Linked DNA regions of Homo sapiens: region 1 is linked to region 2. The links are contacts of gene promoters, found by promoter capture Hi-C in human tissues and cell types (Jung and others, 2019). All regions are on one chromosome and are shown on one strand. Each heading gives the region's core, a stretch centred on a gene start or on the middle of the fragment in contact. The rest is flanking DNA. Distances are from core to core; before and after follow the strand shown. Region 1 has its middle 27 kb from the start of LY6H. Region 2 holds the start of MAFA (MAF bZIP transcription factor A).

What was found. The method cuts DNA at HindIII sites, captures the fragments that hold promoters and counts their contacts. A contact is called where the count stands out against the background at its distance.
Region 1: a contact is called between a fragment that was not itself captured here and the fragment with the promoter of MAFA in region 2, in 1 of the 25 tissues and cell types used here (dorsolateral prefrontal cortex).

What each region holds. Positions count from the first base shown.
Region 1 is chr8:143,129,924-143,136,383 of GRCh38, forward strand. No RefSeq gene overlaps it. Among named protein-coding and RNA genes, the nearest start is that of LY6H, 27 kb to the right of the region's middle. The HindIII fragment of the contact is 7,324 bases long and covers 1-5,700 here.
Region 2 is chr8:143,429,386-143,435,532 of GRCh38, forward strand. MAFA (MAF bZIP transcription factor A) reads right to left here and starts at 1,347. Exons shown (of 1, transcript NM_201589.4): 1 at 1-1,347. The coding sequence starts at 1,021. RefSeq lists a silencer at 1,264-1,703. The HindIII fragment of the contact is 28,870 bases long and covers 1-6,147 here.

The DNA of each region.
Region 1 (6,460 bases), core at 789-3,288, 300 kb before region 2:
TGGACCCCATGGCGGGACTTCCTGCAAATGTGGCCAGCAGGAGGGCTGCCCCGTGGCTCCTCACCGGCGAGTCCTGTGGCAGCAGCAGGCCGAGACACAGCACCACAGGGCTGTGCCGGGTGCCTGCTCGAAGGCAGAGCTGCAGTGGGGGATCCAACAGGAACCGTGGAAATGGGGGGCTCCTGCAGGCAGGGGGATACCCACAGGGTCCCGTGATCCTGCAGGGGTGCAAGTGGCTCCTTCCGTGATGGCCCTAGAGCAAGAGGGTAATACTCTTGCCACCTCTCCCAGACCTGGGGCCAAGTAAAGGCTGATGATAAAGAAGCCAGAGGTGCTTTTCCCAGAGATGGGAATCGGATTCCTGCTGACTTCACCTGAGTAATTCAGAGCACGAGGGAAGCTGCACCTCCAGGGGCGCTCCTGACAGGTAACCCACTGGAGCTGCTATTCCGCAGCAGAGGCACCAGCCAGAAAGATCCGAAAGAAACATTTTCAAAAGTGGACCAAGATGGCTGCAGTTTGGCCACACGGGTAGTAGGAGGCAGGCCTGGCCTATGAGGCTGGAATCTGCATTGTCTCACTGACGTGTCCTGGTCACTGCCGTGCCTGTCAGATGAGGCAGGACAGAACAGTCGCCCCTGCAGACCCTGAGGCTCCAGTAGGTGCCAGCTTTCCACCCTGTGTGCCAGCCACGTGTCCACTCCACCTGTGTACAAGGCACCGAGGCCAGGCAGGACTGCGAGGTCCCCCTGAGCGCACTGCCCCTCTCAGGCTGTGGAACCACCCCTCCTGCCTCCTCAGCCGATGGAACCTGTGTTCCGGGTTGCCACTCACTCTTGGCTCAGCATAAAACGCACTTTGGCTTCTCTAAGTCTGCAGTGCCCATGAGTGCGGCCTCCAGCCGTCGCTGCCGTCTGCCCCTCTCGGAGGACAGATGAGAACAGTGCAGGGATCCCAGGGTGGGGAATGCCCAGGAGCCTGGCCTCCACTCTGGGGTGACCCCGGACCTGCCAGGCGCTGCCTGCATGTGGAGGGGGCATTGCTGCCTCCTCCCTGCCTCAGAGCTTGATCTGCGAGTCCGAACGTGCCAAGTGTGAACCAGCCCCAGCGATCTCCAGGCAGAAACAGATGCATTGGTCTCATGAGGGTTGGCCCCACCCTGCTGAAGGTTTGGGGAGATTTTAGAATTTGGTCTTGGGGCCCTGAGTGCGGCAGAAACAGTGTCCCTGCACGCTCATCATGAAGAGCAGGAGGCTTGTTATCCTGAGTAGGGACAGCAGAGGGCGACCTCTTCCAGGATCCAGACACAGGCCCGGGAGGCTGTAAAGGCCACTCATACGGGAATCGATGGAAATCGGACACCCGTCCCCAGCCCTGGGCCAGTGTGCATCCTTCCTCACCCAGGAGGGGCTACTGAACACTCTCATCCCTGGCATCTGATGCTGTAGAGGTCAGAGGCCAGGTCGGGGCCGGGCAGTAGCCTGAGTCCTGAGGGAGCAGTGCTGACAACGGCCCCTCAACCCATCGCTGTTCTCCCGCAGCCTGAGTGCCACCAATGTAAAAGGACAGCTGTGTGGGCCGCATGTGCCCGGAATGAGGCCCCCTGCTCCCTCAGCCGCGTTCTCATGGGTGAACAAAGACCGTGATGGAACCCACCTGAGCCCCTGAGCCGGCTGGACTGGATTATCCTCCCTATGCGTGGATAATCAGAGCCGGGATTATTCCCCTTAAATATTCCTCTTCCCACTGGCAGTTCTGATTCTCTTTGGACAACTGTTAGGAAACTGAAAAACCTAACAGTGTGTCCTCCTTTCCTGGCCAAGGAAGAAACCACCGTTTAGCTTCTTCATGCCCCAGCCAAAGAGCAGGCGATGGAGGCCCAGAAAACCAACCCCACGCTGTCTGACACAGCTCTCGAGACCCGGTCATCTAAGGCAGCTGTTTGCAAGGCTCTCCTGGGCTGCACCTGCCACCACTTCTCACAACCCACCTTAGCTCCAGTCTGCAGAGCCCCTGCGAAGGCTGAGTTAGAGAACGCTGAGCCCCTGCTGCTAGCAGACACACAGGGTTAGGGTCCCGCAAGCCTCTGGCTCCGTTTTCATCAGCCGATCAATATATCATCTCATTCTCTGTGTTTCTATTTAAAGATCCCTTACTGAATGCACGTGGTGGCTTCATTAACATTGCAATCGGTGCCAAGCACCGTAAGCCTGGACAAAGCTTCTCTGACCCAGGCATTCCTTGCCTAGGACGTGAGGCAGCACCTCGGGACAATGCTTGGGGACATTGCAAACAGCAAAGTCACCCACAAAAAGCACAAAAATGCAAAAAAAAAAAAAATGGCACCAGATAGACCACGAAAAGGGCTCTTGATTGCAGCACAAGCTGGAGCAAGAAGGCCGCCCTGCGCAACCTCAGCCAAGAACGCACTCCGGTGACTCAGAATTGTCGCCGCTCCGTGCAAGTAAGTGTTTGGGGATTACAGCTTCTTTTTTTTTTTGAGACGGAGTCTAGCTCTGTCGCCCAGGCTGGAGTACAGCCGTGTGGTCTTGGCTCACTGCAACCTCCACCTCCCATGTTCGAGCGATTCTCCTGCTTCAGCCTCCCAAGTAACCACCACGCCCAGCTAATTTTGTATTTTTAAAGTCACGGGGTTTCACCATATTGGTCAGGCTGGTCTTGAACTCCTGACCTCGTGATCAGCCCACCTCGGCCTCCCAAAGTGCTGGATTTACAGGTGTGAGCCACCGCACCTGGCCTTACAGCTACATTTTAGCAAGTAGAAGAATCGCATACAGACTCCAGGAATGACAAGGATGGACTGTTAAGGAAATCTCAGTGGGGCACAGCACAGCGGAACCCTGGCACTTCCAAGAGTGCTTTTCAGGACACCAGCCAGTCCTTGCACACCAAGGTCACGAAGATAATTAACATTTGGAATAATTAATATCTAGAAAATGATTAGGAGCATTTACCAACATTAGTCTTAATATTTTTTACTATTTAACCCATCTCCCTTCTTTCCGGACACACTCAGCCACACCAGCTGTCCCTTGTTGAGACTTCTCCTGGATCAGGATGCCGAGCGTCTATCTCGTGTCCATTATAATTTTACAAAACGCACCTGTGCAGCCCTCCCCAGCCCCACCGTCGCCTGGCATCAGCACCCAGGGTCTCCAGCCCACTCCACTCTTCAGACTGGATCCGCAGTGACCTTTCTGAAATACAGATCAGGTCATGCCACTGATTAAAACCCTTCAATGGCTTCCCCAGTGCTTCCATTAGTCACCAAACAGTCCAGCCGCCCTGCAAAGCAGCCAGCACTGGGGACCCCTGTGGCTCTGTGCTCCAAACACCCTCTGCCTCCAGTCCAGCTGCAGCCGCAGAGCCGTATCCTCCAGCGCTGCTCCTGCACTGACCCTTCCTCAGAGGGGAGGACGCTTCGGGCAGCCACCTCCCAATCCCGCACTATTGCTTTGCCTCCTACCTGCCCCTGCGGCACTCACTGGCCTGGCCCTCAGGACACCCAGAGGAGCTTCCAGCCCGCAGTTTCAGTGGTGCCCAGCAAACAGCTCCTAGTGGCCTCTGAGGGCCTTGCCAGCGTGGACAGCTCCTTGCCAGTGGGACGGTTCCTTGCCAGTGTGGACGGCTCCTGCTGCAGCTCCCAAAGGGCGCTCTCCTGCCAGCCTTGGCTGAGGCGCTGCTGCTTCAGTAGGGTCTGAAGCTCAGCCTTGATGAGGGACCTCCCCCAAACACATTTGGCTCCGCCCAGCCCTCAAGCTGTGGTTGCTTTTGGGCCCGCCCCTCCTGCCTCTTAGAGGTCTCTGTGCCCCTTCACAGCTGTTCCCAATATCCAGCCCCTACTACCTGTTAATAACCCCAGTAAACTTCCCCTGCCTGCTGGCTGTGTGATTTCTGTCTCCTGGTGACCCTGAGGGAGGCACAGCCCTGTGCGGTCTGGTCTCCATCCTCCCACACGTCCTGCCTGTCTGGGCTCCAGCCACACGGGCCCCTGTCCCGCTCCGGTGGGTAATATGGTAGAGTTCAGACCAAAATGTCAGTCACATTAACACAAATAAGTGGGCTTCACTCACCTGTTAAAAACATTTTTAGGGCCAGGTGCGGTGGCTCACGCCTGTAATCCCAGAACTTTGGGAGGCTGAGGCGGGCGGATCACGAGGTCAGGAGTTTGAGACCATCCTGGCTAACATGGTAAAACCTCATCTTTACTAAAAATACAAAAAATTAGCCGGGCGTGGTGGTGGGCGCCTGTTGTCCCAGCTACTCAGGAGGCTGAGGCAGGAGAATGGCATGAACCTGGGAGGCGGAGCTTGCAGTGAGCCGAGATCGCGCCACTGCACTCCAGCCTGGGCAACAGAGCGAGACTCCGTCTCAAAAAAAAAAAAAAAGAAAAACATTTTTAGTTTGGGTCATAAAACAAGACCAACTATATGCCAAATAAAAGATATACACCTAAAAAATGATTCTGACAGGCCAAAACTAAAAATGTGGGCAAATGGACAATAAGAAAGCCAGAGTCATGACAAAATAAAACATTAAATGCGACAACAAATATTTTAATGCAAAAATCCGCAATTCATAATGTAAAAATAACAGTTATGACTATGCACCAAATAATAAAGCAGCCACTTTTATAAAGCAGACACTCCGGAGACAGAAGGAGAAATAAATACAAAAACACTAGTCATGAGAGACTTTAACATAGCACTGTTAGCATTCTATCAGTAAGGCCAAGCGGACGAAGAGTAGCTGAGGGCTTAGAAGACCTGTGTATCATACAGACATCAAAGATAAATGCAATCCTAGGCCGGGCGCGGTGGCTCACGCCTGTAATCCCAACACTTTGGGAGGCCGAGGTGGGTGGATCACTTGAGGTCAGGAGTTCAAGACCAGCCTGGCAAACATGGTGAAACCCCATCTCTACTAAAATAAAAATACAAAAATTAGCCGGGCATGGTGGCACACACCTGTAATCTCAGCTACTCAGGAGGCTGAGGCACGAGAATCGCTTGAACCTGGGAGACAGAGATTGCAGTGAGCCGAGATCGGGCCACTGCACTCCAGCCTGGGTGATAGACAGAGACTCAGTCTCAAAAAAAAAAAAAAAAAAAGGTAAATGCATCAAAAACACACTTTCTCACGTGCACAGAAAACACAGACTGTCGCTGACGCGGGATAGGTAAGGTCAGGAGGCCACATTGACTTGTCCCTTGTGTGAAGCCTCTTGGGCTCTCCGTCCCTCACCCCTTGTGCTCAGCACCCAGCTCTCTTGCAAGGTCAAGAGCCCTGCCAGACACCAGCAGATGGCCAGATGCTTACAAGTTCCTGATACCTGATATGGCAGGAAAGAGAACAAAAGCCCCTTATTCCTGATGTAGCTTCGCCAGTCTCCAGCCAATCAGCACCAGAAGCCCATGAAGCCATCAGCGACACATTCCTGCCTCAGGGGTCCTGCACGCACAGCTAGGCTCAAGGTGTACCTCGTATTCGGTTGATGCAAAAGTAACTGTGGGTTTTGCCATTGAAAGTAATAGACAAAACAGCAATTACTTTCGCACCAACCTCATAGTAACCCTTCTCTCGTTTTTGTAGTAAAAAGCACACCCTGGATGGAGATGTTAAACGCTAGTGATCCATGTGATGCGTTCACCAGCCGCAGGTCCACCTTTGCACACCTGACTCACCAGGATTGTATGTACAGCTCCCACAAAGGGAATATCCCCCTCAAGACACCAGGGACTGCTCTCTCACTGAGCAGCCACTCTGTCTCTCAGGGTGGACTTTTGCTCTGCAATAAACTCTTGGCTGGGCATGGTGGCTCATGCCTGTAATCCCAGCACTTTGGGAGGCCGAGGCTGGCGGATGACCTGAGGTCGGGAGTTCGAGACCAGCCTGACCAACATGGAGAAACCCCATCTCTATTAAAAATACAAAATTAGCCAGACGTGGTAGCGCATGCCTGTAATCCCAGCTACTCAGGAGGCTGAGGCAGGAGAATCACTTGAACCCAGGAGGTGGAGGTTGTGGTGAGCCAAGATCGTGCCATTGCATTCCAGCCTGGGCAACAAGAGCAAAGCTCCATCTCAAAAAAAAGAAAAAAAAAAAAGAAAGAAAAAAACCTCCTTTGCCTGCTGTTTCTGTGGACTCGATCTCAAATTCTTTTGTGCAGCGAAGTTGGGAACCTGACCCGGCCACCCACAGGCAGCATCGGCACAGAAGGTCACAAAGAAGACACCAGGAAACCCCATAAGCGAGAAACTGGAAACCGCGCACTCTGGTCACGATGAAAAGATAATGAGAATTTATCAACAGTACTATTGTAAAGGGCCCTTCCACCCGGAAGTTTAAAAACAACTCTTGGGTGAAAGGAGAAGTCCAAACTGAAATTACAGAATGTCTTTTGAAAGTGTGATTGTAATAAAAACTTGTGGTTGCTGCC
Region 2 (6,147 bases), core at 97-2,596:
CGGCCTGCGGCGGCGAAGGCTCCCGCGGGAAACCGGCCCCGCCCGCGCTCCCGGGGCCGCCCCGGCCCGCCAGCTTCTCGTATTTCTCCTTGTACAGGTCCCGCTCTTTGGCCAGGCGCCCCACCTCCAGCTTCAGCTGCTCCACCTGGCTCTGGAGTTGGCACTTCTCGCTCTCCAGAATGTGCCGCTGCTGCACCCGCTTGAAGCGGCAGGACTGCGCGTAGCCGCGGTTCTTGAGCGTGCGCCGCTTCTGCTTGAGCCGGATGACCTCCTCCTTGCTGAAGCCGCGGAGCTGCCGGTTCAGCTCGCGCACCGACATGGACACCAGCTGGTCGTCGGAGAAGCGCTCCTCCAGGCGCACGTGGTGGCCCGCGCCACCGCCGTGTCCCGCGCCGCCATGGTGGTGGTGGTGGTGGTGGTGGTGGTGGGCGGCGTGGTGATGGTGGGCGGCGTGGTGCGCGCCGTGGTGGTGGCCGGCGCCCATGTCGTCCGCTCCGCCGCCGCCCGCGAAGCCCGGGCCGCGGAAAGCCTCGTAGGCTGCGGCGGCCGCCGGGTGGTGCGCGCCGTGGTGCGCGCCGTGGTGGCCGCTGCCGATGAGCGCCTCCACCGCGTCCTCGGGCGTCAGGTTGAGCGCCTCGGGGTTGAGGTGATGCTGGTAGCCGCTCATCCAGTACAGATCCTCCAGCGCCGGCTTCCCCGAGGTGCCCCCGACGGCGCCGGGGCCCCCGCTCGGCGGCCCGGGGGCGCCCCCGGCCTGAGACGAGCCGCCGCCGCCCCCCGCGCCGCCGCCGCCGCCGGTGCCCGGGCTGGGCGCGCAGAAGCTGGGCGAGGAGGGCACGGAGGAGCAGGGCGTGCTGAGCGGCGTCGAGGACAGCGAGCCTGGCGGCAGGCGGTGGCAGAAGCGCTCGGCCTCGGGAGGCTCCTTCTTCACCTCGAACTTCATCAGGTCGAAGTCGTTGACGTACTCGATGGCCAGCGGGCTGCTGGGCAGCTCGGCGCCCATCGCCAGCTCCGCGGCCATCGCCCGGGGCCCGCGCCCGGCCGCGCCCCGACGGGCGGCGTGGGAGTGGGGGGGGAGCTGCAGGCCTCTCCCCCCCCTGCTCCCCGCGGGCGGCGGTCCCGGCGGGGGCGGGGGGGCGCCGGCGCGGGGCGGCGGCGCCGAGGGGCGCAGGGAAAAGTTTCACGTGGTCAACTCCGGGGCGGCGCGCTAGGGGCACCGCTGGCCAGGTGTCTCGGGCGACCCCGGGCCCGCGTCGCCGCCTCCTCCCCGCGGCCGCCGCCTCGGGCTGCTCCGGGACCGCTCCCGCGCCCCACCCGCGCCGCCGGCCGGCCCCGCCTCCCACGGCTAAACGCGAAGCCGCGCGCGCCCCTTTATAGAGCCGGGTGCCTGGGCCCGCCTCCCCGGGAGGGGCGCGCGCCCCCGGGCCAATCGGAGCCCCAGCCCCGCCGCCCTCATTTGCTTATCCCCATGGCAACTCAGAGCCCAGCTGTCAATCTCCTGCGGGAAACAGCTGTGGGAAGAGGTAGGGACGGGCCGCCGGCTAGAGGAGAGGGCAGGGCCCTCTGGTGGCCATCACGGGGCACTGCACGGGCAGAGGGCGCGCCGCCTCAGGGGACAACTGCCGTCTCCAGGGGCCTCAGCTCCCACACCCGGCGGCCGGAGAGTCCGGGGAAGCAGACGGGGACCGCGCCCGGGGACCCCCTCGGGGCCTCGTCCGCCTCGGGCCACGCGGCGGGACGCCCCCTCGGCCCCCTGGGTTTGCGGCCGGGCCTGGGGGCCGGGGGCAGCTCCGCTAGCGGCGGCGGCGGCGGCAGCGGGACCTCCGGGCCTCTGGACACGGGTGACACCGCGCGGCCCGGCAGAGCGCGGCGCGCTGAGCCGGTTATTTTTAGCCCGCGGCTCAGACGCGTTCAGGAATTTGGTCAACAAAGTTGCCGGCACCTCCGGGCACCGGGAAGCACGGGGCGGGCGGAGGGGGACACACGCGTGCGGGGCGGCGCGAGGGGCCGGGGACGGAGGGCCGGCTTGTGGGGGGCCGCGGAGAGCGCAGGACTGTGGGGGTCGCGGGACAACGCGGGTGGGTGCGAGCGGCGGGGGCGGGGCCCACGGGCTGGCAGCCCCTCAGGGCGTTAGGAATCCCCGCCCAAGCGGCCACCACTGCCCACTTTCGCCCCCCGCAGGGCTGGAGGCGCCTTGCTGGGCCTGGAGTGGGACGGGGGGTAACTGAGACGGGAAGGCGGGGATTTCCACCTGGCGGCCGTGCACCTGCTGGGAGGAGACGGCTCCGGTTCACGGGGCAAAGGAGGTGACGATGGGCGGTGGGCCTGTGACCCCAGGTCCCCGACACCAGCGAGCCGGGTGATGGGAGGGTTGCGCCAGGAGTTACAAGGCCGGTGACCCGAAGTGGGCCTATTGTTTCTTCTCGAAATTCTCTCCATTGCTGTTCTATGACTTCAGCAATTTAAAAAAAAAAAAAAAAAGTCTAAAATGTAACCACCTGTGTAGAGAAAAAAAGCCTGGAAGGAGTTGCGCAGAGGCCACAGGGAGGCCTGGTCACGGCGCCGCAGATTTAGTACCAGGCTCTCACCTCCTTCCCTCTACAAAGATCTATTGTTTTGTAACAAGAAGACTGTCATGAAGTGAGGACTGAACATCTGCTTCCTAAGGTGTCTCGGGGTGTCCCTGGCCCTTCCCTGGGCCCTCCCACTCCTCTGGGCAGAGCTGGGACTGCTGATTTGGGAAGACCAGGCCTTCCTCCCCGCAAGGGAGGGCCAAGGACAGCATGAGGACCCACCTGCAGGGACCCCTCTCCCCCGATCCTGTCCCAGAGGGGGCTCTGAGCTCCCCACCCTTCTACAGATGAAGAAATGAAGTGGGCATGCAGCAGAGCCAAGTCCCCACACTGGGTACCTGGACTTGAGACCACACGAGTGGTCAGCCAGCCAGGGGTGTGGGGTTTCCTTTATGGCACCCCGTGTTGAGAGGGAGGCCCGGGAAGGGAGGATGCCGCCGCGCAGTGGAGCTGGTGGTAGTCCAGGTTGTCTGCACCTGCAGCCCCAGGAGAGGCCTTGGGGCTACAGGGCCCTCCCACGGCCCCTCCAAGGGTCTAGCAGCATTTCTGGGTACCACACCCTGGAGGCCCTGGGGCACACTGGAAAGGGGGTTGAGGAGGAAAGAGAGAGTGTTTGCACCGGGCTGTGTCCCCACTGTCCCCCCCTCCCGCCCATCGCACTGTGGCTCCTGCCAGGCCAAGGAGACCAGGAGAGGGTGTTTGGTCACCAGCCCAGGAGGACTCCAGCACACCCGTGGGAATGAAGGAGACGCCTGACCCCAGGCTGTTGCAGTGGGAACCTTCCCCGGGGCCACAGCTGTGACCTCAGGCTGAGGGACGCTGACCCCACAGCCATGCTTGGACTCAGTGGCACCCCCATCCCGCCACCACCCACAGGAAGCCTAAGTGCCTCATCTTGCTCTGAGAGGTGGGAGAAGGTGGTGGAGGCTGGGGTGGCCTCAAAGATTGACCCCAACCCATCCGCCCCAAGCCTGCCAAGCCCTCCTTGAGGCTTGGTGCTGTCACCACCAAGCCAGGATGGCTCCCTAGAATTCGCCTGTGCTCCGCTGTTCCCTGGGCTCCCAGAAGCGCTTTCCCTTCCCGCCAGCCTCCCAACCCAAGGGCTTCTCACACCCTCCAAACTTTCAGCATTTGGTCCTCACAGAATTCTGCAGGGGCAGTCTGTGTGGCTGGGTAACTCAATGCACCCAACAGGCTTCTCTTGAGCACCTAGAGTACGTCAGCCAGCCTGCCTAGGGGGCACATCCCATCAGGGAGGTGGCCAGGGTCCCTTGTTGAGAAGCCCCCTGGAGCTTGATGGCACAAGTATTATTTCATCCATGGGCTCTGTAAGGGGGAGATGTGTCCTGGGAATAGGGGCACAGCTTGCCTCTGGTCCTGACAGCTGGGAGGACTTGGGGGTTGGGGTAACGGGACAGCTGATGGATGGTGCCACTGGGCAGGGTCTTCACACCCAGGCCTGGCAGATGGTGAGAGCTGTCGGCCAAAACAGCTGCTTGTGACACCTCCACAGGGCTGCTCCCTGCAGCTGGTTGGGCTTCCTCACAGCATGGCTGCTGGTTCCCAGTGTGTGCATCCGAGGAAGGTGGAGGGGTGCATGTGCCTCAGAACACTGCACCATGCTGGTGGTCCTCGTGTGTAGAGGTCGGCCACCCCCCTGGGCAGGGGTACGGACACTGCCTGTGTAGGTCATGTGAGGAAGGGGCCTGTGGGCTGAGATGCACTGTTGTAGTGTTTTTGGAAAATACAGTCTGCCGAGTGGGCCTCAGAGAACAGAAAATCAGCCATAAAAATAGTAAGTAAAATGAGGCCGGACACAGTGGCTCATGCCTGTAATCCCAGCACTTTGGGAGGCCGAGGTGGGCAGATCACAAGGTCAGGATTTTGAGACCAGCCTGGCCAACCTGGCAAGAGCCCGTCTCTACTTAAAAAATACAAAAATTAGCCGGGCGTGGTGGTGCACACCTGTGGTCCCAGCTACTTGGGAGGCTGAGGCAGGAGAATCGCTTGAACCCGGGAGGCGGAGGTTGCAGTGAGCCGAGATCACGCCAGTGCACTTCAGCCTGGCCAACAGAGTGATTCTGTCTCAAATAATAATAATGAGTAAAATGATAGTGGATTTGCCTTCTATTGCTGTCTCACCAATTACCACACGTTTAGTAACTTAACACACATTTATGGTCTTGTGGCTTCTGTGAGCCAGGTGTCCAGGCAGGGCTTAGCAGGAGCCCCCGTCCAGGGTGCAGTCTAGGAGGTGGCCGGGCTACAGTTTCAACGTGGGACGAGAAGGGCTGTGCCACCAGGCATCGTCAGGCTGTTGGCAGAATTATTTCCTTAAATCTGTACAACTGAGGACCGGCTTCTTGCTGGCTGGAGGCTGGAGGCCACCCTGAGCTCCTCACCAGGTGCAGCCCCAGCACAGGCCCTGACGCCTCGGGCCAGCAGGGAGAGGCTCTCAGCGGGGCGTAAGGTGCCGTGATCACAGCTGCGGCATCTGGCCACCCTCCAGGAGTCTGTCGGAGGAAAGGGGTCACCCAAGGGTGGGAACGCTGGGCAGGGGGGTGCGTCATGAGGCTACCTCAGGGCCTGTCCCCCACACTCGTTTGTGAGAAGGCGGAAGCTTGGCTAGGTGGGGAGTTCTGGGTTGGTGGGGTTGGGGGGCCTCACAGACACCTGAGCAGATGGAGGGGCAAGCCCTTCAGGCCGGGGAGCAGGGAGCCCAGAGCCACTGCCTGGGAGGGGCCTGGAAGGGCCCAGGGTGGCTGGGTCAAGATCAGAGCCCATGGGGGCTGGTGTAGGGCCCAGGAAGTCATCGTGGGCCCCCAGAGGGCTCTGGGTGGAGGGAAACCTGGTACGAGGAGGGACAGGGAGGTTGGGGTGCTCACCAGCTGAACCCCACAGCTCCCTCTGCTGTCCACCATGGGACCCCACGCAGTCTGCTGTCTGCTGGGGCCCTGAGCTCATGCATTTTACTGCAGGGAGGGGCCTGAGGGGACCCTCCTGGCACGGCTCCTCCACCCCTGCCAGAGCACAGCTGCGCAGGAGGGCTGAGCTAACCCTGCCAGGCCATGCGTGGACCTCCTGAACCTCACCCTGCTGCCCCAAGAGTAAGTGCTCGGAACTGCGTAGAGCCTCGCGTGGGGTCTGGAGTGTCATTTTTGGGGCATGTATTTAGGTGGGAGAACCCCCACACCCCCAGTGCCCGCGTTTGCTGTGCGGAGCTGATCACAGGAGACAGAACCTTCTCCGTCCCGCAGACAGAGGCTCTGCATCTTCTGGGCTAGGGGGCTGCTGGGGCTGCCTCCACCCCCACCCTGCTCCTGCTGCCCGGGCGCCCCTCCTCCACTCAGGGGCTCATTTGCATTTAAAAACGACAACCAAAAAACAAGCCCAGGGCCTCCTGAGAGTCCCTCCTCAGCCTGTCGCTGCTCTGCCCAGGGCCTCCTGAGAGTCCCTCCTCAGCCTGTCGCTGCTCCGCCCCTTCCTTGTGCCCCTACTCAAGCACGGATGGTGCGCCTGCTGTATGCCAGGCGCCAGTCAGGGCACTCGCTCAGCCACTGCACGCCCAAGCTCC